Linked DNA regions of Homo sapiens: all the other regions are linked to region 4. The links are contacts of gene promoters, found by promoter capture Hi-C in blood cells and fetal thymus (Javierre and others, 2016). All regions are on one chromosome and are shown on one strand. The core of a region is centred on a gene start or on the middle of the fragment in contact, and the rest is flanking DNA. Distances in the headings are between cores, read along the strand shown.

Evidence for each region. Contacts are between HindIII fragments. The CHiCAGO score rates a contact against its expected background, and 5 or more counts as called.
Region 1: a fragment that was not itself captured here is called in contact with the fragment with the promoter of AURKC in region 4 in 1 of 17 cell types (non-activated CD4 T cells); the score reaches 8.1 in non-activated CD4 T cells.
Region 2: a fragment that was not itself captured here is called in contact with the fragment with the promoter of AURKC in region 4 in 1 of 17 cell types (total CD4 T cells); the score reaches 5.4 in total CD4 T cells.
Region 3: a contact is called between a fragment that was not itself captured here and the fragment with the promoter of AURKC in region 4, in 1 of 17 cell types (non-activated CD4 T cells). The highest score is 6.7, in non-activated CD4 T cells.
Region 5: a contact is called between a fragment that was not itself captured here and the fragment with the promoter of AURKC in region 4, in 1 of 17 cell types (non-activated CD4 T cells). The highest score is 6.1, in non-activated CD4 T cells.
Region 6: a contact is called between a fragment that was not itself captured here and the fragment with the promoter of AURKC in region 4, in 1 of 17 cell types (non-activated CD4 T cells). The highest score is 6.7, in non-activated CD4 T cells.
Region 7: a contact is called between a fragment that was not itself captured here and the fragment with the promoter of AURKC in region 4, in 1 of 17 cell types (non-activated CD4 T cells). The highest score is 8.1, in non-activated CD4 T cells.

Annotation. Positions count from the first base shown.
Region 1 is chr19:44,087,933-44,090,632 of GRCh38, reverse strand. It overlaps ZNF284 (zinc finger protein 284), which reads right to left. Exons shown (of 5, transcript NM_001037813.4): 5 at 1,020-2,700. Among named protein-coding and RNA genes, the nearest start is that of ZNF224, 5.1 kb to the left of the region's middle. The HindIII fragment of the contact is 1,887 bases long and covers 421-2,307 here.
Region 2 is chr19:44,237,798-44,240,497 of GRCh38, reverse strand. No RefSeq gene overlaps it. Among named protein-coding and RNA genes, the nearest start is that of ZNF233, 21 kb to the left of the region's middle. The HindIII fragment of the contact is 4,782 bases long and covers 1-2,700 here.
Region 3 is chr19:43,904,011-43,906,710 of GRCh38, reverse strand. The region is part of intron 1 of ZNF45-AS1 (ZNF45 antisense RNA 1); the gene reads right to left. Among named protein-coding and RNA genes, the nearest start is that of ZNF45-AS1, 3.5 kb to the right of the region's middle. The HindIII fragment of the contact is 1,010 bases long and covers 802-1,811 here.
Region 4 is chr19:57,229,639-57,232,338 of GRCh38, reverse strand. AURKC (aurora kinase C) reads right to left here and starts at 1,316. Exons shown (of 7, transcript NM_001015878.2): 1 at 1,033-1,316; 2 at 552-597; 3 at 115-306. The coding sequence starts at 1,090. The HindIII fragment of the contact is 17,293 bases long and covers 1-2,700 here.
Region 5 is chr19:43,977,056-43,979,755 of GRCh38, reverse strand. It overlaps a transcript of ZNF221 not described here. Among named protein-coding and RNA genes, the nearest start is that of ZNF155, 5.8 kb to the left of the region's middle. The HindIII fragment of the contact is 848 bases long and covers 911-1,758 here.
Region 6 is chr19:44,063,354-44,066,053 of GRCh38, reverse strand. All of the region lies in intron 4 of ZNF223 (zinc finger protein 223), which reads right to left. Among named protein-coding and RNA genes, the nearest start is that of ZNF284, 7.5 kb to the left of the region's middle. The HindIII fragment of the contact is 3,327 bases long and covers 1-2,700 here.
Region 7 is chr19:43,923,203-43,925,902 of GRCh38, reverse strand. ZNF45 (zinc finger protein 45) reads left to right here. Exons shown (of 10, transcript NM_003425.4): 4 at 445-578; 5 at 1,342-1,501; 6 at 1,593-1,665. ZNF45-AS1 (ZNF45 antisense RNA 1) reads right to left here. Exons shown (of 3, transcript NR_184050.1): 2 at 649-761. Among named protein-coding and RNA genes, the nearest start is that of ZNF45, 11 kb to the left of the region's middle. The HindIII fragment of the contact is 2,032 bases long and covers 407-2,438 here.

The DNA of each region.
Region 1 (2,700 bases), core at 115-2,614, about 13 Mb after region 4:
TAAAATAATTACTATCAAAATTCCAGCAAGATATTTTGTAGATATAAAATTATTCTAAAATTTATATGGAAAGGCAAAGGAACTAGAATATGAGTATGGTTAGGGTTGTCTTCACAGTTGAAAATCTTTCATTTAACCAGAGACATTATAGGGGAGACACTCTGTAAAAAGCTGGTCTCAAACTCTTAGATTCAATTGATCCTTCTGCCTCAGCCTCCCAAAGTGCTGGAATTACAGGTGTGAGCCACCATGCCTGGCCACTTACAAGAGACTTACAAAAGTGAGGCACTAAATTATTAAAGTAAAAATCAATAAATTTCCTTGAAAAATGCCCTGTATAAATGTGATTATTGTATTTTCAGCTTCAGTTTGATTTCACATCACCATCAAAATCAAGGAGCACATAAAAGAAAGCAAGCTTGTTTACTTTTATTTTTATTTTTATTTTTTTGAGATGGAGTCTCACTCTGTCACTCAGGCTGGAGTGCAGTGGCGTGATCTCGGCTCACCGCAACCTCCACCTCCCTGGTTCAAGCAATTCCCTTGCCTCAGCCTCCTGAGTAGCTGGGATTACAGGCACACGCCACCACCACACCCAGCTAATTGTTTTGTATTTTTAATAGTGATGGGTTTTCACCATGTTGGCCAGACTAGTCTCAAACTCCTGACCTCAGGCACTCTGCCCACCTCGGCCTCCCAAAGCGCTGGGATTACAGGTGTGAGCCACCGCACCTGGCCAAAAGCAAGGTTATTATACTCACTTTGGCACGGGAGAAGACCTCTCATAACCAGCAGACAATTTTCTCAGAAAACCTATGTGTAATGAATGTGGACAAGGATTCGGTGATGGCTCTAGACTTGAAATTCATCACTAACTAGATTTAGGAGACAGCCCCAATATCTTTAATAAAATATATGGGCTTTAACGATAGCTGAGTTTTTCCCATTCATGAGTTTTCATCCATAAGCCCATCACCTTGTCAGTGTTGGAAACTTCAGAAATGTGATGCACCTTCAGATGGATTAAAGTCTTCACGTTTATTAAGGAGTCCATGACAATGCTACATCTTTTACAGATAATGAGTATGGTTAGGGTTGTCTTCACATTTGAAACCCTTTCATTTAACCAGAGACATTACAGGGGAGACACTCTATAAAAAGTATGTGCTTTAAATATTCCTGCTTATGTTATGTTCATCTTTATGCCAATATTTTTATGCTGTCCAATTCATCAGATTTTCTTTGTTGTTTAGTGATTTCCACGCCCCCCACCCCCAAATACTAGCCTTCCCAAGTTTGTGGAAACAGTGTACTATTTTGTTATAGAAACTAAAGAAGATCAATCAGGGGTGGTGGTCCATGCCTGTAGTCCCAGCTTCTCAGGGGATTGAAGCAAGAGGATCACTTAGGCCCAGGAGTTCGAGGCTATAGGGCACTGTAACTGCATCTGTGAATAAGCAATCCAGCCTGGGCAACACCGAGAGACCCCATCTCAAAAACAAAACAAAACAAAACAAAATGCTGTGCGCATGGCTCAGGCCTGTAATCCCAGCACTTTGGAAGGCTGAGGAGGGAGAATCGCTTGAGCCCAGGAGTTTGAGACCAATTTGGGCAACATAGTGAGACCCCATCTCTACAACAAAAATTTAGCCAGGCGTGTTGTTGCATGCCTATAGTCCCAGCTTTTGAGGGGCTGAGGCAGAAGGATTTCTTGAGCCTGGGAGGTCAAGGCTGCAGGGAGCCGTGATCATTCCACTGCATGCCAGTCTGGGTGACAGAGCAAGACTGTCTCAAAAGAAAAAAAAAAAAAAAGCCAATTCTTGCCTAATAATGGTCAGAGTTTATAGTGGTACAACCAGTTTGAAATACTTTTCGGAAGTATCTACTAAAATTAACATATTCATATCTTATAACTCTTTGCTGTCACATATATCACATTATTAAGGTTTCTCTACAGAACAGACACTGAATTTGAAGATGTGAGCCCTGACTGAAGCATGTACCACAATCTCCACACTTCCATGGTTTTTCTCCAGTGTAGATCCTCTTATGCATATCAGCATTCAAGTGATCCAGCAATCCCACTACTAGCTGTATATCCAAAGGAAAGGAAATCAGTGTGTTGAACTCCTATCTGCACTCCTATATTTATTATAGTACTATTTGCAATAGCTAACATATGGAACCAATCTAAGTGTTCATCAACAGAAAATGGTAAAGAAAATGTGGCATACATACACAAAGGTACACTATTTAACCATAAAAAATAATAAAATTCTGTCATTTATGGCAAGATAAAGATAAGCTTTGGAGAACATGATGTTGAGTGATGTAAATTCAGGCCCAGAAAGATAAATACCACATGTTTTCACACATATGTGGAAGCTAAAAAGTTGACATCATAGAAGCAGCATAGCATTGGCTGGGCACGGTGGCTCATGCCTGTAATCCCAGCACTTTGGGAGGCCAAGGCAGGTGGACCATTTGAGTTTGGGAGTTCAAGGCTAGCCTGGCCAATGTGGTGAAACCCCATCTTCACTAAAAATACAAAAATTTTTAGGCATGGTGGGCATGGTGGCTCACGCCTGTAATCCCAGCACTTTGGGAGGCCGAGGTGGGCGGATCATCTGAAGTCAGGAGTTCAAGTCCAGGTTGGCCAATATGGCAAAACCCCATCTCTACTACGCATACAACAATTAG
Region 2 (2,700 bases), core at 35-2,534, about 13 Mb after region 4:
ACAACATCCACCTGCTGGGTTCAATTGATTCTCCTGCCTCAGCCGAATAGCTAGGATTACAGGGGCTAACCACCACGCCTGGCTAACTTTTTGTATTTTTAGTAGAGACAGGGCTTCACCATGTTGACTAGACTGGTCTGGAACTCCTAACCTCAGGTGATCCACCCACTTCGGCCAGCCAAAGTGCTGGGATTAAAGGCGGGAGCCACTGCACCCAGTTGGCTTTTTCAAGATGGGGTCTCACTGTCACCCAGGCTGGAATGCAGTGGTCCAATCACAGCTCACTGCAGCTTCAAACTCCTGGGCTCAAGTGATCCTCCCACCTCAGCCTCCTGAGTAGTTGAGACTATAGGTGTGAGCCACTGTGCCTGGCTGACAGTCTGCTTTCTATTATACTCTACTACTTTATTACCAATATTCTGACTTGGTCTCGTTAACACTAGTTTCTCCTAAAATGCCTTGGTCCTCTCAAGAAGCAGTAGAGGGATGTGCTTTGAGAACTTTGTCAAACTACCTCTGAGAAGGTTCAGAGAATGAGAGGTAAATAAAGTAAAGCAATGCTAATCAATGGCATCCGTGACACTCACAGGCTAGGAGAGCTCCGCAACACTTCACCAGAAACCATTCCTTAACACTATCTGCAAGGAAACATTGACTGGAAGGCTCTCATCTGAATATATCTATCTTTGGATATTTCTATCAGATACTTTTCTTCATGGCCCTACGGGAACATTTTATTTGGTTTAAAGGGTCAATACCCTGAGAATAGGAAAAATTATAATGTTTGGGAGACTATGCCATTCAAAAATCATCTCTGGCATCAGTCATCCAATACTCCCGTTCTCTCTGAAAGACAGAACCCCCAAGTTCTAGTTGGATGCATGTCCACATTCCCCAGTAAATATATGAATGATACTGGGAGACAAATTTCTGATTCTTGAAGAATGAAGATGCAACATAGAATGGGGGTAAGGCTAGAAAAAAAACACTATGATATTAATTTAAGAACTAGAGATAAAAGCAGGAACTCATCATTAATTCTTTCTACCTTTCTACTTCTCTTCCTATCTGTATAACTCTTTCCCCTCCTTCCTAGAGGGAAAAAAAAAAAGGCACAGCTATTACCCAGATCTTGATGTTTAACTACCATCCCCCAATCAGAAGAATCTGAGTTCTCAAAGAAACAGCAAATTCCATGGATGGTGCAGGAAGGGTACAAGATGAGCTTGGAACACTGTATTGTGTCAGAGTAAAGATGTGCTCCAATTTATTTAAAAATACATGATGGGCAAACAGGACAGAAGGGAAACTTCCTTAGAGTAGAACAACAATCTAACAAGTGTTGGAGGAATGATGAAAGTTGAATATATCACACTTTCGCACCATCAGAGCAATTACTGATTTAGACCAGACTTACAGAATGCTTAAACTAGTGGAGGAAAATTTACTGAAAAACAAGCTATTTAGAGTCAGAAAGTGTCTCCCCAGGAGTTGCCTTTGTAATTATTAATTACAAAGAAAAAAATAGTAATTTCGCAGTGGAAAAACCCAGCACCGCCCTCCCCAATCAAGTGTTCCAAGTTAACATCACCTATAAAGGTACAAACATACCTCGTTTCCTCACGTGCTGCACACCACTTACAGAGTCCTCATGGGAAAAAAATGTGTAATTTAAATCCAATTGTAAGGAAACCTCAGGCAAATCCAAATTAAGAGACATTCTACAAAATAATCTCAAAAATATCAAGGTCATTAAAAACAGAGGTAGCAACTCAGATTAAAGGAGTCTAAATGCAATGTGTAATCTTTGGACTCTAGAGCAGAAAAACAATAAATATATTATTGGGATAATTTTAAGATTTAAATAAGGTCTGTAGGTTACATAGTGTTATGTATCAATAATAAATTTTCTTTCTGGGTGCAGTGGCTCATGCCTGTAAACCTTGCATTTTGGAAGGCTGAGGTGGAACGATCACTTAAGCCCAAGAGTTCGATACCAGCTTAGACAACATAGCGAGAGCCCATCTCTACAAAAATCTTAAAAATTAGGTGGGCATGGTGGTCCACGCCTGCAGTCCCAGCTACTTGAAAGGCTGAGTGGGGAGGATTGCTTGAGCCCAGGAGTTCAAGGCTGCGGTGAGCTATAATCACCACCCTGCACTCAGCCTGGGCAACAGAATGAGACCCTGTCTCTAAATAAATAAATCACTGGAATGTTGTACTGTAACTAAGTAGATATCCTTGTTCTTAGGAAAGCACACTTAAGTATTTAGTGTAGGGAGAAGGATGTCTGTAACATATTCATATGGCAAAACTTTATATATAAATGCGTTTAGTATGTATAAGTATCAGTATATACACGCTCATACTTATTGAGAGAATAATTCAAACATCTTAACAACTGGTGAATCTGGGTAAAGAGTATATGGGAGCTTTTATATAATTTCTGTAATTTTTCTGAAAGTTTCAAATTATTTCAAAATAAGTTTAAAGAAATATAAAAATATACATAAAGTAAAATCCCATTATTTAGAGAGAACTATAATACCCATTCATCTATGCGTTTTTACAAAATAGGATCACATAAAAATCTCACATTTTGTTTTTCAAGTTAATATATTCTGAACATCTTCCAATATCCACAGCTAAAAATTTACCTTTTCCCATTTGATGTCTGCATAGTGTGCCACTGGATTGGTA
Region 3 (2,700 bases), core at 57-2,556, about 13 Mb after region 4:
TGTAAGAACACAATTTTTTTGCATATTGATCTTCCTGTAACTTTGCTGAACTCATTTACTAGTCTTATTAGTTTTTTGTGATTTCCTTAGGACTTTATGTATATAAAATCATATCTGCAAATATAGCTTTACTTCTTCATTGTACTTCTTCATTTCCATATGGATGTCTCTTATTTCATTTATTTGCCTAGTTGCCCTGGCTAGAACCTCCAGCATGTATCAAATAGAAGTGGTGAGAGTTGGCTGGGCGTGGTGGCTCATGCCTGTAATTCCAGCACTTTGAGAGACTGAGGCAGGGAGATCACTTGAGGTCAGGAGTTCAAGACCAGCCTGGGCAACATGGTGAAACCCCATCTCTACTAAAAATACAAAAATTAGACGGGCGTGGTGGTAGGTGCCTTTAATTCCAGCTACTAGGAGGCTGAGGCAGGGGAATCCCTTGAACACGGAAGGCGGAGGTTGCCGTGAGCTGAGATCGCGCCACTGTACTCCAGCCTGGGCAACAGGGCAAGACTCCTGTCTCAAAAAAAAAAAAAAAAAAAAAAAGTGGTGAGAGTGCACATCTTTGTCTTGTCCCTGATCTTAGAAAGTACTCTGTCTTTCACCATTAAGTATGATATTGGCTGTGGGTGTTTTATAGGTGGTATGTTGAAGAAGTTCCCTTCCATTTCTAATTTGTTGAATGTGTTTTTTATCATGAACAGGTGTGCACATTTCATGGATTTCTCTCTTTTTTTTGTTTCCTTCTGCCTACTTTGGGTTTCAGATGTTCTTTTTTTCTTGTTTCTTAAGGTAAAAGCTTAGGTCACTATATTAGTCTGTTCTCACACTGCTATAAAGAAATCCCTAAGACTGAGTAATTTATAAAGAAAAGAGGTTTAGTTGCTCACAGTGCTGCAGGCTGTACAGGAAACACAGTGGCTTCTGCTTCTGGGGAGGTCTCAAGGAGCTTTTACTTATGGCACAAATCACATGGCTGGAGCAGGAGGAAGAGAGCAAGGGAGGAGGTGCCATGTACTTTCGAACAACCAGATCTCCTGAGAATTCACTCACTATACAGTACCAAAGGCGGATAGTGCTAAACCATTCATGAGAACTCCACACCCACGATCTATTCACCTCCCACCAGGCCCTACCGTCAACACTGGGGATTACAATTTGACATGAGATTTAGTGGGGACACAGATCCAAACCATATCAGTCACTGATGGACGAATACAGTGTTTATCTTAAGAAACAAGAGAAAAAGAAGAGCATCTGAAACCCAAACCATATCAGTCACTGAGACACTCTTCTCTTTTAATATAGGCATTTAATGCTATAAATTTTCCTTGAAGTCTTATTTTATCTACATCCTATATGTTTTGATATGTTGTTTTTATTTTTTATTTTATTTTATTTGACCTATAGACTCTGAAATGCTGGCCGGGTGTGGTGACTCACACCTGTAATCCCAGCACTCTGGGAGGCCCAGAAGGGCAGGTCACTAGGGAGTTGGAGACTAGCCTAGCTAACATGGCGAAACCCTGTCTCTACTAAAAATACAAAAATTAGCCTGGTGTACAGCTTACACCTGTAGTCCCAGCTACTTGGGAAGCTGAGGCAGGAAAATCGCTTGAACTCAGGAGGTGGAGGTTGCAGTGAGCTAAGACTGTGCCACTACACTCCAGCCTGGGTGACAGAGCAAGACTGTCTCAAAAAAAAAAAAAAAAAGTTATTTAGTTCCTGCTATCTTTTTGTTATTGATTCCTAATTTAATTCCATTGTGGAATAGAGAATGTATTTTATATAACTTGAATCCTTATAAAGCTTTTGAGATTTGTTGCATGGTCCAGGTTATGGCCTATCTTGACATATGTACTTGGAAAAATTGGGCAATTTGCTGCTGTTTGGCAGAATGTTAATGTCAATTAAATTTAATTGGTTGATAATATTGTTCAAGTTTTCTCTGTCCTTATTGATTTTTCATCTATCAATTGTCAGCAGAGTATTACTATGTTTAACTATAATTGTTATGTCAATTTCTGTAGAGTTTTACACATTTTTGTGTTTTTGGTCTTTTATCCAGTCTGTTGTTCATTCTGGGTCATTTCTACTGTTCTGTCTTCCAGTTTCCTGATTCTTTCCTCTGTTCTTTCCTTTCTGCTGCTGAGTACATCCAATGAGTTTTTAATTGGTTACTAAATTTCTCAGGAGTCAAAATTCCTTGGTGTTCCATTATATCTTTGATTTCTTTGCTGAGACATTCTATATTTTAATTTATTTCAAGCATGTTCATAATTATTGTCTGAAGCATTTTTAAGGTGGATGCTTTAAAATTCTTGTCAAATAGTTCAAATATTTCTATCATCCTAGTGTAGGCATCTATTGAGTCTTTTTCATTCAGTTTGAGATCTTCCCAGTTCTTGGTGTGGTAAGTGATTTTCTGTTAGAACTGAACATTTTTGGTTTTCTGATCTGAGGCTCTGGATCATACCTAACAAAGTACCACCGACTGGGCAGCTTAAACAACACCAATTAATTTCCTTACAGTTCTGAAGGGTAGAAGTCTGATATCAAGGTGTCAGCAGTATTGTTTCTTGTGAGGTCTCTCTCTTTGGCTTGTAGATGGCCATGTTCTTCTGGTAAACGTGCTACCTTCACACACCCTTTGTGTATCTGTGTCCTGATCTCCTCTTCTTATAAGGATACCAGTCATAC
Region 4 (2,700 bases), core at 67-2,566:
GAACTGCAGAGAAGTCTTCAAGGTACAAGTGCAGGGTTTACTTGGGGTTAGTATTTGGGGAAAATGCTGGGCTCAGACGTCAAAGATGAAAGAGGAAGCAGAGACTGTCCTTACTGTAGATGAGCCTGGATCTCAATTTCCCGGCGCAGCTGGTGCTCCAGTCCTTCCTTCTCTATCTGCGACTTGAAGAGAACCTTCAGGGCCACAATGAAATGGCTTTCCTTGAGCCGAGCCAGGTACACATTCCCAAATTTCCCCTTGCCCAGGGGACGCCCGATTTCAAAGTCATCGACTGTGAGGCGCCGCCTGACAGGAGAGGAAGAAAAAAGCCTCAGCTTGGGAGGTAGGGTAGGCGGAGGGAAAGTCAGGGATGCCAATGCTCCCCTTCCTCTTTCATTGTATCCTTCCTCTGCCGCTTTCCCTTCTCACACAGACCCAGCCCTATCAGTAGTTCTCGTTCCCAGGAGCCAGCACCCCACACACCCAGTCTGTTCTTCATCCCCACGTCCCACCTTCCTTCCTTTTCCAGATACCAATCCCAAGGGACTCACATGGCTGGGCTGCTGGGCTGCTGGGCTGTTTGGTTTGCTGTAGCCACTGAAAGAGAGGAGGAGGAGGGAGATAGGAAGGGAGAGGGGAGGGAAGGAGAAGGGGAGAGAAAGAGAGGAGAGGAGAACAGTAGAGAAGGGAATAGGGAGCGAGAGGTGAGGGGAAGAAGGGGAGGAGAGAAAGAGAGGGAAGGGGAAGGCAGGGAGAGGGGGAGGGAGAGGTAAGGGGAAGAAGAAAGAGTAAGGTAAGGTAGGGAGGGGAGGAGGAGGTGAAGAAGAGGCAGAGAGAAAGGAAGGGGAGGAGAGAGTAGGGGAGGGAGAGGTGAAAGAAAGAATTGGAGGGAAGGGAGGGAGTGGGGAGAAAAGAAGAGCGTTGGGGAGGAGGAGAGGGAGGGGAGATGTCAACACATGTGTCTTCTGTGCACCCGACCCCTGGCCCAGTCCCCAGCCTTCCCTGCGTCCTTTCTCTGGCGCTGGCTCTCACACTCTTCGCCTGCAGGTTGAGCTTTGCCCAGCTGCACCACAGCTCTGGGGGAGCTCATGGGGAGAAGAGGTGAGGGCGCGGACGCCTTCCTGAACCCTCTGGATGGCTGTTCCCGTTCACAGGGTCCTGAAAGGGGTGGGGGGTCACTTTCTGGCCGGGGCGCTTCCAATCCTGCTCGTCCTGCAGCCTCACTGATGTCTCACTGCTACACAGGCTTCGGGATCCGCGGCGTCGTGAGCAGCCGTGGCTGCGCGGCCTTCTTTTATACCCGGCACCAACCGCTCAGAGAGGTACTTCCTGGCTGGCTCCTATTGGCTGAAATTCCTGACGCCATCGGAAGTGCGCCCAATAGAAAGGACAGAAACGGGAGCCTCAGTCCAGGGTTCCCGGGTTGGGGCGGAACTGGAGTGCTGCGGTCCGGGCTGGGCACTGAAAGCGAGGGCCAGGGGTGAGGCCCGAGAAGGAAGGAGACAGAGGGTGCGGAGAGGTGGTGATGGCCGTTGTGGGAATGAACAACGCATACACCCACGGGGTGTGCATGCGTCAACTAGGAGAGAGCCGCGATGCACGTGGGAATGAACAGACGCCCACTCCTGACGTGCTGGAGCCTCGTGCAGCCCGTGACCCTAAACCACTTCGCGCCTTGTGCAGCCGGCGACCCCAAAACCACCTTGCTTCAAGGTCACGTCCGATTCAGGCCACTCTCCAGGGTCACCGCGATGGGGCTCCCTGAAGCCTGCGGCTGTGCCTGCTCACAGCCAGGACGCCACCAGTCCAGCTCACTTACCCCTCTCCTCCCACTCGCCAAATATTTGTTGGACCCTGTAATCAGTTTGTGGATTTGGCCTCAGATCGTAAAATCAGCCCCCACGTATTTGTTTAGCAAACACATAAGTTTCAAAAACATTAAAAATTGAATTCTTTTAGACAGGGAACATATCTTGCAGAAATATAATTGAAGGCCTGGCGTGATGGCTCATGCCTGTAATCCCAGCACTTTGGGAGGCCGAGGCGGGCGGATCACCTGAGGTAGGCAGTTCGAGACCAGCCTGGCCAACAGGGCGAAACCCCGTTTCTACTACAAAAATTAGCCGGGTGTGGTGGCGCATGCCTGTAATCCCACCTACTCAAAAGGCTGAGGCAAGAGAATCGCTTGAACCCTGGAGGCGGAGGTTGCAGTGAGCCAAGATCATGCCACTGCACTCCAGCCTGGGCGACAGAAGGAGAACGAGACTCTGTCTCAAAAAAAACAAAAACAAAAACAAAAAAACCCAAAAACAAAAAAGCTCGTCTCAAAATATTTGGGGAGACCTATTTGAGTAATAAAACTCTGGTCTCTCATTTAGCTCGATTGATGTGAATTAAACCCTTTATTGCAATTATCCTGTCTTGATAAGTCGACTCTATCTGGGGAGCAGGGAAAATAATGAACCCATTAGGTGGTTACAATAGGTGGATCAGGGTAATGGCGCTTAGCTCAGGCCAACCATTCCTTTCTCAGAGGCTTTCCCAAACCTGTCTGTTTGTTTGTTTATTGAGACGGAGTCTTGCTCTGTCACCCAGGCTGGAGTGCAGTGGCTCGAACTCAGCTCATGCAACCTCCGCCTCCTAGGTTCAAACATTTCTCCTGCCTCAGCCTCCTGAGTAGCTGGGATTACAGGCACCTGC
Region 5 (2,700 bases), core at 85-2,584, about 13 Mb after region 4:
AGCGTTGAAACGGAGTAACAAAATCAATATGACATATACAAATGATTTATTGCAAGGAACTTTCTTATGCCACTGTGGGACTGGCTAAGCAACTGCAAAAAACATATGGCTATACCCCAGGATGGCTCAGATGGAACACTAACCCACGAGAGGAAGATGCTACTAAAAGGTGCAATTTCTTTTTTCAAAGAAGCTTCAGCTCTACTTTTAAATAATTTCAAGTGATTCATCAGGCCCACTGACATTATCTCACATAATATCCCTACTCAAAGCCAACTGATTATGGGCTAAATATCTACAAAATGCCTTCCATATATATATATATATATATATGTATTACTGTTTGATTAAATAACTAGGGACTGTAGTCTAGGCATGTTGTAATTAAAATTGATACCACACAGATCCTCATCATCAGAAAACTGTTTAAGGAAAAATTAATATTCAGTACACCAGGATACAGCAGGCATTAGAAATGAGGTTGGAGGTCAACTTATTTATACAGCCTTTAACATTAGTGTCATATTAGGACAATCCTGTTAGGAGCAAGTATGCTTAGTGTGTTCCTAGTTTTGTAAAATTCTATACAATTGTTACCTATATGCATAGATATGCTGAACCATCCTTACCAAAATATTCATACTTCCTATCTTCCACTTTCTTTTTTAGACTTTTCTGTACCAAAGTAATTGTTTCCAATGTCTAGACATTATTCTTGCAAGTAAAATGAGTGTATTTTTACTATAAAAATTAAAAACAACAACAAATCTATCCAGGAAGTTATTGTCATAGTGTATCAAAAAAAAAAAAAAAAAAAAAAAACACACACACACAAATGTTGTGGCATTTAGCTCAAACATTTAAATGGATATCCTACTGATATGGTCAGAGAATAATAACTTGGGAAGCTTCCCTCATTTTTCAAACACAGAGATTGAGACTCTGCAATAATTCCCAATTATAATAATGTACCCAATTTCAAAGTTAACATAGTGAACTTGCCAGGGTCATATACATAAAAGAGACCCAGTCCATCGTGAGAAGTGGCAAGAAATACTGGCCACACAAAAGCTCAGGTACTACATATGAAGCTAGGTATTCAATATTCAGTTTTATTGGGAGTCAAATACTCATGCAGTCTGTGAGACATAAATATGAACAATAAAAACAAATCAGCTGTTAATATCATCCTGTGACCAATTTGAGGACCCAGACACACACGAGGGTAGATGGAAGGCCTACCTATGGTATTTTTTATTATAAAAATATTTAAAAATGTAATCTGATGAATTTTCTTTTACAAATAATTATCTTAGAGATGAACTATTATCTGGTGATAGTTTAAGAAAACCCCACAAGACTGCAGGCCCTACTTTTCTGATACCACATGCACAAAAAGTTAACATAGCAGGCATAAGTCAGACTGCTAACTTTAAAAAGAGCTGTTTGCAACACTGGCCTTTGGCTGGAGTCAAGGAACATGGGGTTTGAGAGAGTTACCACCTTTCCATAATGGGTAGGAGTGGTCACTGCGCCTAAACTCTACAATGCAGCTTATTTGGAACACTTGCTCTTCTTCTTAGAGTTGGGAATCTTGATATGTACTAGACACATACCTACATAATCAATCTCAATAAGAACCTGTGCTGCTGGTTGCTAATGAGCTTCCATTGTAGACATTTCACAAGTAGTATCACAATTCAATGCTAGAGGAGTTGAGTCTTATGTAACACCATGCAGAGAGGACTCTGGTAAGCTTGCTTCTGGTTTCCTCTAGACAACTGCCCATGAGCCATTTCCCTTTACAGATTCTGTTTTGTATCTTGTCACTGTAATATTGTTATAAGTACAACTATAGTCTCAGTTATTTTAGTAAATCACAGAACCCAGAGGTGGTCTTAGGGACCTCCAATCTACTATCCAAACTGGCACAGCATGAATATAGCATCATGAAAATACATTATTTAGAAAATTAATTATGAAAAGCTTACTATCTCAACTAGACACTTTGAAGAATGCCTTTTAACCTAATACAGTTAAGTTACACCATGGTGTATAACTATGAATTAGCACCCAAATCAGCTCTTTGTCCGAGCTGGTTCCACACACTAAGAGACTGCTGCTGTCATGTTAAGTTCCCTGATCATGCGCATTTGTTCTTCAAAGAATCTGTTTTTTTAACCTCCACAACTATATATACCCACATTATTTCTGTCACTAGGATTTGCTTGCTTCCTGACTTATGCCTAAAGCAGAATCACACACATTAGTTATGAAGGCAGTTGACCACACTCATCAATCTGTATATCCAGGTGACCAGATACATTTTTTTATTTTGAAATATGACTTCCACATCCCTATTCCTTAATTTTGAACTGTCATATGACAATGTAGAGCAATCTTATTCAGAGTCCTTATAGGTAAGTGATTAATATTAATAATTTTTCAAATTTTTCATCACATAACTGCTTTGGTAAAATTGGTGTTCAATGAGAAATTTAAAATGCATAAAATTATAAAATGAAAAATTCCAGCAAATACTCATTGCCAGGGAAAATGTCAGAATATTCATCCACAAATGATGTACATACACACTAAAAATAACCAAATAAACAAACCCAGAAACACAAAGACACTTAGTTTGTTATGAAGGCTACAATAGGATTTCCCTAAGGCATACATTATGCTCTTCTCTTTTTA
Region 6 (2,700 bases), core at 91-2,590, about 13 Mb after region 4:
ACAAAATTAAGAGATCAGGACAAGCTATGCCCTGTTCAGTGTTTTTAAGAGTTCACACTTAGGACATGGTATGAAACTTCAACGAATGTTCAGTTTGTGTTTTCCAAGTGCACCCTGGTTTCTGGTTTGCATGAGAGTAATCTAAAACCATACCATGTCACTGGGGACGGTGGCTCACACCCATAATCCCAGCACTTTGGGAGACCAAGGCACTTTGGGAAGCTGAGGCAGGCAGATCACTTGAGGTCAGGAATTCGGGACCAGCCTGACCAACATAGTGAAACCCCGTCTCTATTAAAAATACAAAAATCAGCTAGGTGTGGTGGCACACACCTATAATCCCAGATACTTGGGAGGCTGAGGCAGGAGAATTGCTTGAACCCAGGAGGCGCAGGTTGCAGCAAGCCGAGATCGTGCCACTGCACTCCAGCCTGGGCGACACAGTGAGACTCTGCCTCAAAAAAAAAAAAAAAAAAGAAAAGAAAGAAAAAAACATACCACATTTCAAATAAAAAATCATTGATAGAAATAAAAGGTTTAATAAAAAATTAATATGACACATACATTTAACCTGTTACTGTTTTTAAAATTTCCAACTCAGTCTGAAATTTTACATGATAAATTACTAAACTATTATGTACGTAATGAAATATGAATCAAAAGGAACTCTAAGGGAAAGCAGTAACATAATAAATACTTCGTATATTTGCCTGTATATTATATATCCTTATAAAGAAGTTAACCTTCCTTTCAGTTTAAGATGGCTTAAAAAACATTTTTAAAAATAAGAAAAGGAGTTAACCTAACTAAAAAGAGGTCAGGACTTTGTCCTCAGTATCTGAGAGGTAATCTGTAGAATCTTGAAGGGGCATGCCTGAGGAGAGTCTCTCTGTTTGCTTGGGGGCAAATCTTGGGTAACTCTTGACAGTGAAATAATATAATTTAGGGTTGTGACTAGCCACAGCTTTGGGGGATGGGAAATGGCAGGTGGCATTCCCCATGTCAGAAAAAATAACGATGTGATTTAATGTAGGTCTTTAGGTCACAGGGAACCAGTGGACCAAAAGACTAAATAACCACACAGGAATCAACCAACCAATTATGGCTATGTAATGGAGCCCCAATAATTACTTGGATCCCAGCACTCAGTTGAGTTTCCCTGATTGGTGGTTCCTTGTGTCTAAGTCACATGCTAATTTTGGGTATGTAACATGCCCGACTCTACTGTGAGAATACAATAGGAGATCCACATTTGGTACTTCACTGGACTCTGTCTTATTTGGTTTTTCCCCCTTGGTTAACTATAATATGCATCTTTTGCTTGTAAAAATCAGTAACTGTGAGAATAAATACATCCAGTGAGTTCTGAGGGTCTTTCTAGGAAATTATTGAATGTGAAGGTAGTTTTGAAAAACTGCCGAATTTGCACTTGGAGTGAAGTGAGAGCAGTTCTCTGTAAAATGTCCCATTAAACTTTTTAGTTTAACCCTTCATGATACTAAACATCAAACACCTTAGAATGTTTATATCTACAAATCGAAAGTATTCCTATACAAGAATTTTGCATGACACATATAAAATACTTAATCTTATTTTTCTGTTTTGATATGGATGATAAGTTGGTTATCTGAAAGAGTACAGAGACAGACAACTGCAGTTCTGAGGGGAATCTGAAAGGCTGTCCTTCCAGAGGTCCACAAAGGAGGATGCTCTTCATCAGACAATCAATGATGTGAAGAATCACTTGGAATGAAAAGAAAGCCTATGATGTAGATAAACAGGCCTTTTTAACTGTTTTTATATTCAAGACTACACATCAGTGAGCTGAAATAAAGTTAAAACCTTCAATAGACATTTATAGAAAGGAGCCAGAATGAAAATTATCACAGTGTGGAGACAAGCAGGAAAGGTGTCGTTACATGAAATGTCAGCTAAAGTCACTCACATACACCTACATGCATGAAAACTGTCCAGGTTATACTGAAAGAGGTGTTTCTTATTATGGTTCATGCTCACAAAATGTTCAAAACTTTGTCAGGATATTACCAAGTCCTGAATTAGGTAAATTTTTCTGATGGAGAGTTAAGTTCCAAAGGTTGAAACTTGGAAAATATTAATAGGTAAGTGGGTACCCATCAGTATACCTAGCCAAACTCCACCCTTAAGCCTAGAACCTCAGCCCTAAGTGAAAACAGATGACCCCATTTTTCTGCCCCAATGTTGCTTTTTTTGGCCTGCCTGCCACTATCCTGTGACCATAAAAGATTTCAGCTGGCAGAGCAACACAAGCAGCTGAGTGGCAAGGATACAAGTCGCTGAGCGGTGAGCAGAGAAGCAACTGAGTGTCGGAAAGTATGGATAGATGTGGCTAACTTCAGAAGGTGCTGCTTTGGAGAGGGGCCCAGCCACAAATGGCCTGGCTTCAGGAACATGTTGATCCCCTTCCCAGCCCCTTTCCAGCCTCCTTTTCTGCTGAGAACCACTCACCACTCAATAAAGTCTTCTGCGTTCATCACCTTTCACACAGTTCATGTGACCTGGTTCTTCCTGGATGCTGGACAAGAACCCAGGTGCCAAGAGGGCAGGGGCTGCTACCCTGATGCTCCACTGAGCTGATTGGCACTTGGCCATCCCCAGATGGCAGAGCTGAAACAGCATGGGTTGTAACATGCTTGGACACTGCTGTGGGGCGTGCATAAC
Region 7 (2,700 bases), core at 173-2,672, about 13 Mb after region 4:
CCAGCACTTTGGGAGGCCAAGGCGGGTGGATCACTTGAGGTCAGGAGGTCGAGACCAGCCTGGCCAAAATAGTGAAACCTCATCTGTACTAAAAAAACAAAAGAAACAAAAAAAATTAGCCAGGAATGGTGGCGGGTGCCCATAATCCAGCTACTGGGGAGGCTGAGGCAGGATAATCTTTTGAACCCGGAAGGCTGAGGTTGCAGTAAGCTGAGATCATTCCACTGCACTCCAGCCTGGGCCACAGCGCAAGACTCCATTTCAGAAAAATAAATAAATAAGTATTTCTTCTAAGATTGGAAGGTTTTATGTTTCCCTTTTCAATAGTAAGGGTTCTTCTATCTGAAGTAAGAGAACTAAGAATAATTTACTAATAAATCAAGCAGTAATTAACTAATACTAAGCTTTTAATCTGGGTATTTTACTCGTTTCCACCCTCCATAGAATCAGAATCATACCCTGAGAGCTACAAGAACTCCATTTTTCACTGTGCAGAGGCTCTCTGCTGAAGGGTCAAGTGGAATCTGGAATCCAGCCCATGTTTCCCCATCATCAAGCCATGTGAAGCTGCAGACTCCGTGAGTGCCTTAGTCCATTTGTGCTGCTATAACAAACAATACCATAGGCTGGGTGGCTTAAACAACAAACCTTTATAACTCACAGTCCTGGAGACTGGGAAGTCCATGATCAAGTCACTGGCAAATCCAATGTCTAATGAGGCCACTCTTACTGGTTCGCAGAAGCTGTTGTCTTGTATCTTCCTGGGAGGAAGAGAGAAAGAGCTAGGTTACTTGCTTTTCTTACAAGGAAAGCAATCCCATTATGGAGGCTTCACCCTCATGACCTAATTACCTCCTAAAGGCCCCACCTCCCAATAACATCACATTAGGGCTTCAACATAAGAATTTTGAGGGGACACAGACATTGGTCCACAGCAGCAAGGGAGGGGCTCCCTGACTGTTTCATGTAAAGCATCTGCATGGGTTTATGTGTAACTTCTATTGATTGTTTAAGCTGCCAGAAACTGTTCCACATGTTTTGTGTATACTTAGTCACTTTCACTGACCTTCCTATGAAGTAGGTATTATTATTACATCCAGTTTATAGATTAGACATTAGAGCACAAAGTACTAGCAAGTTGGACATGCCTGTATTCCAGTACTGGTGGGCTGGTTCTGGAGTCTAGACTGTTCACAACTCTGTTCTCTACTCCCTCAAGCAGCTCCCTTGGCTTCAGAGTCCAATCTCCATTTCTGTGTCTGTCTTTTACCCCTAACTCTGGAGCCCTCATTTCTCCTTCCATGAGATCTTAGACTCCCATCTGCTTATTTTTGTCTTTAGAAGCAACAGAGAGACAAGATTTAGAATACTGGCTCTGGTATGAAAGCTGGATTCAGGTACTGTTCCTGCCTCTTGACCTCACCAAGCCTCAGCTTCCTCGCCTGTTAAATGGATACAATTGTCGTCATTATCATCTGTTGAGAACTCCCTAAAATGCCAGGTACTATGCCAAGGGCATTGCATAAATTCACTCATTGATTCCTCACAGTAATCCTATGATTAACATCCTGTTTTCATTTCCCTTCTTATAGCTGAGCATAGGCACAGAAGTTTAGGTGTTTGGACCAAGGTCACACAACTGATACAACAGTAGCTTCTTCACAGGTATGTGTGAAGTACCTTAATGAAACATCATGTGCCAAGTTCTTCATAAGGTCCCTAATATGTATTTAGTTAAATATCACCATTTTTGTTGTTATTATTGTGCTTCCTATAGCTTGTTAATTTCAGTGACATTATCTAATTTATAGTTGCATAAATCTTGCAGAGTCATGATTTTTTATTAAATTTTCTCTGTCTCTATGATAGTCTTTTTAAGGCCCTACTGTTAAAGTAAATTTTGCAAGGTCTTTTTTTTTTTTTTTAGATTTTTTTTTTTTCTCTTTAGAGATCACTCTGTTGGCCAGGTTGGTCTTGAACTCTTGGCCTCAAGCAGTCCTCCCACTTTGGCCTCCCAGAGTGCTAGGATTACAGGCATGAGCCACTCTACACAGCCAAATTTTGCAAGGTCTTATACCTTTTAGAAACCAGTCCATATAGTCAAATTCATAGAGATAACGTGGTTATCAGGGGCTGGGAGGGGGAATGGGGAATTATTACTTAATGGGTACATAAAAAATTCTGATGATGGATAGTGGTGATGGCTGCACAACAATGTAAATGTACTTACTGAATGTAACCACTTAAAAAATGGTTAAAATGGTAAATTTTATGTTACATATTTTACTATCAAAAAAAGCAGTCATCTATGTACAGTAGTCCCCCCTTATCCACAGCAGATACCTTCCAAGTCCCCCAGTGAATGACTTAAACCTCAGATATTACTGAACCCTAAATATACTATGTTTTTCCTTTACCTACATACTTATGATAAAGCTTAATTTATAAATTAGGCACAGTAAGAGACTAACAACAATAACTTATAATAAAATAGAATAATGATAAAATACTGTAACAAAAGTTCTATAAACATGGTCTCTCTCTCTCTCTCAGAATATCTTACTGCACTGTACTCACCTATTTTTGGGCCATAGTTGACTTCAGGTAACTGAAACCACAGAAAGCAAAACTATGGATAGGAAGGACCACTGTAATCTTAAATACTATTGCAAAAGCCTCAAATTAAGTATGGGAAACCAA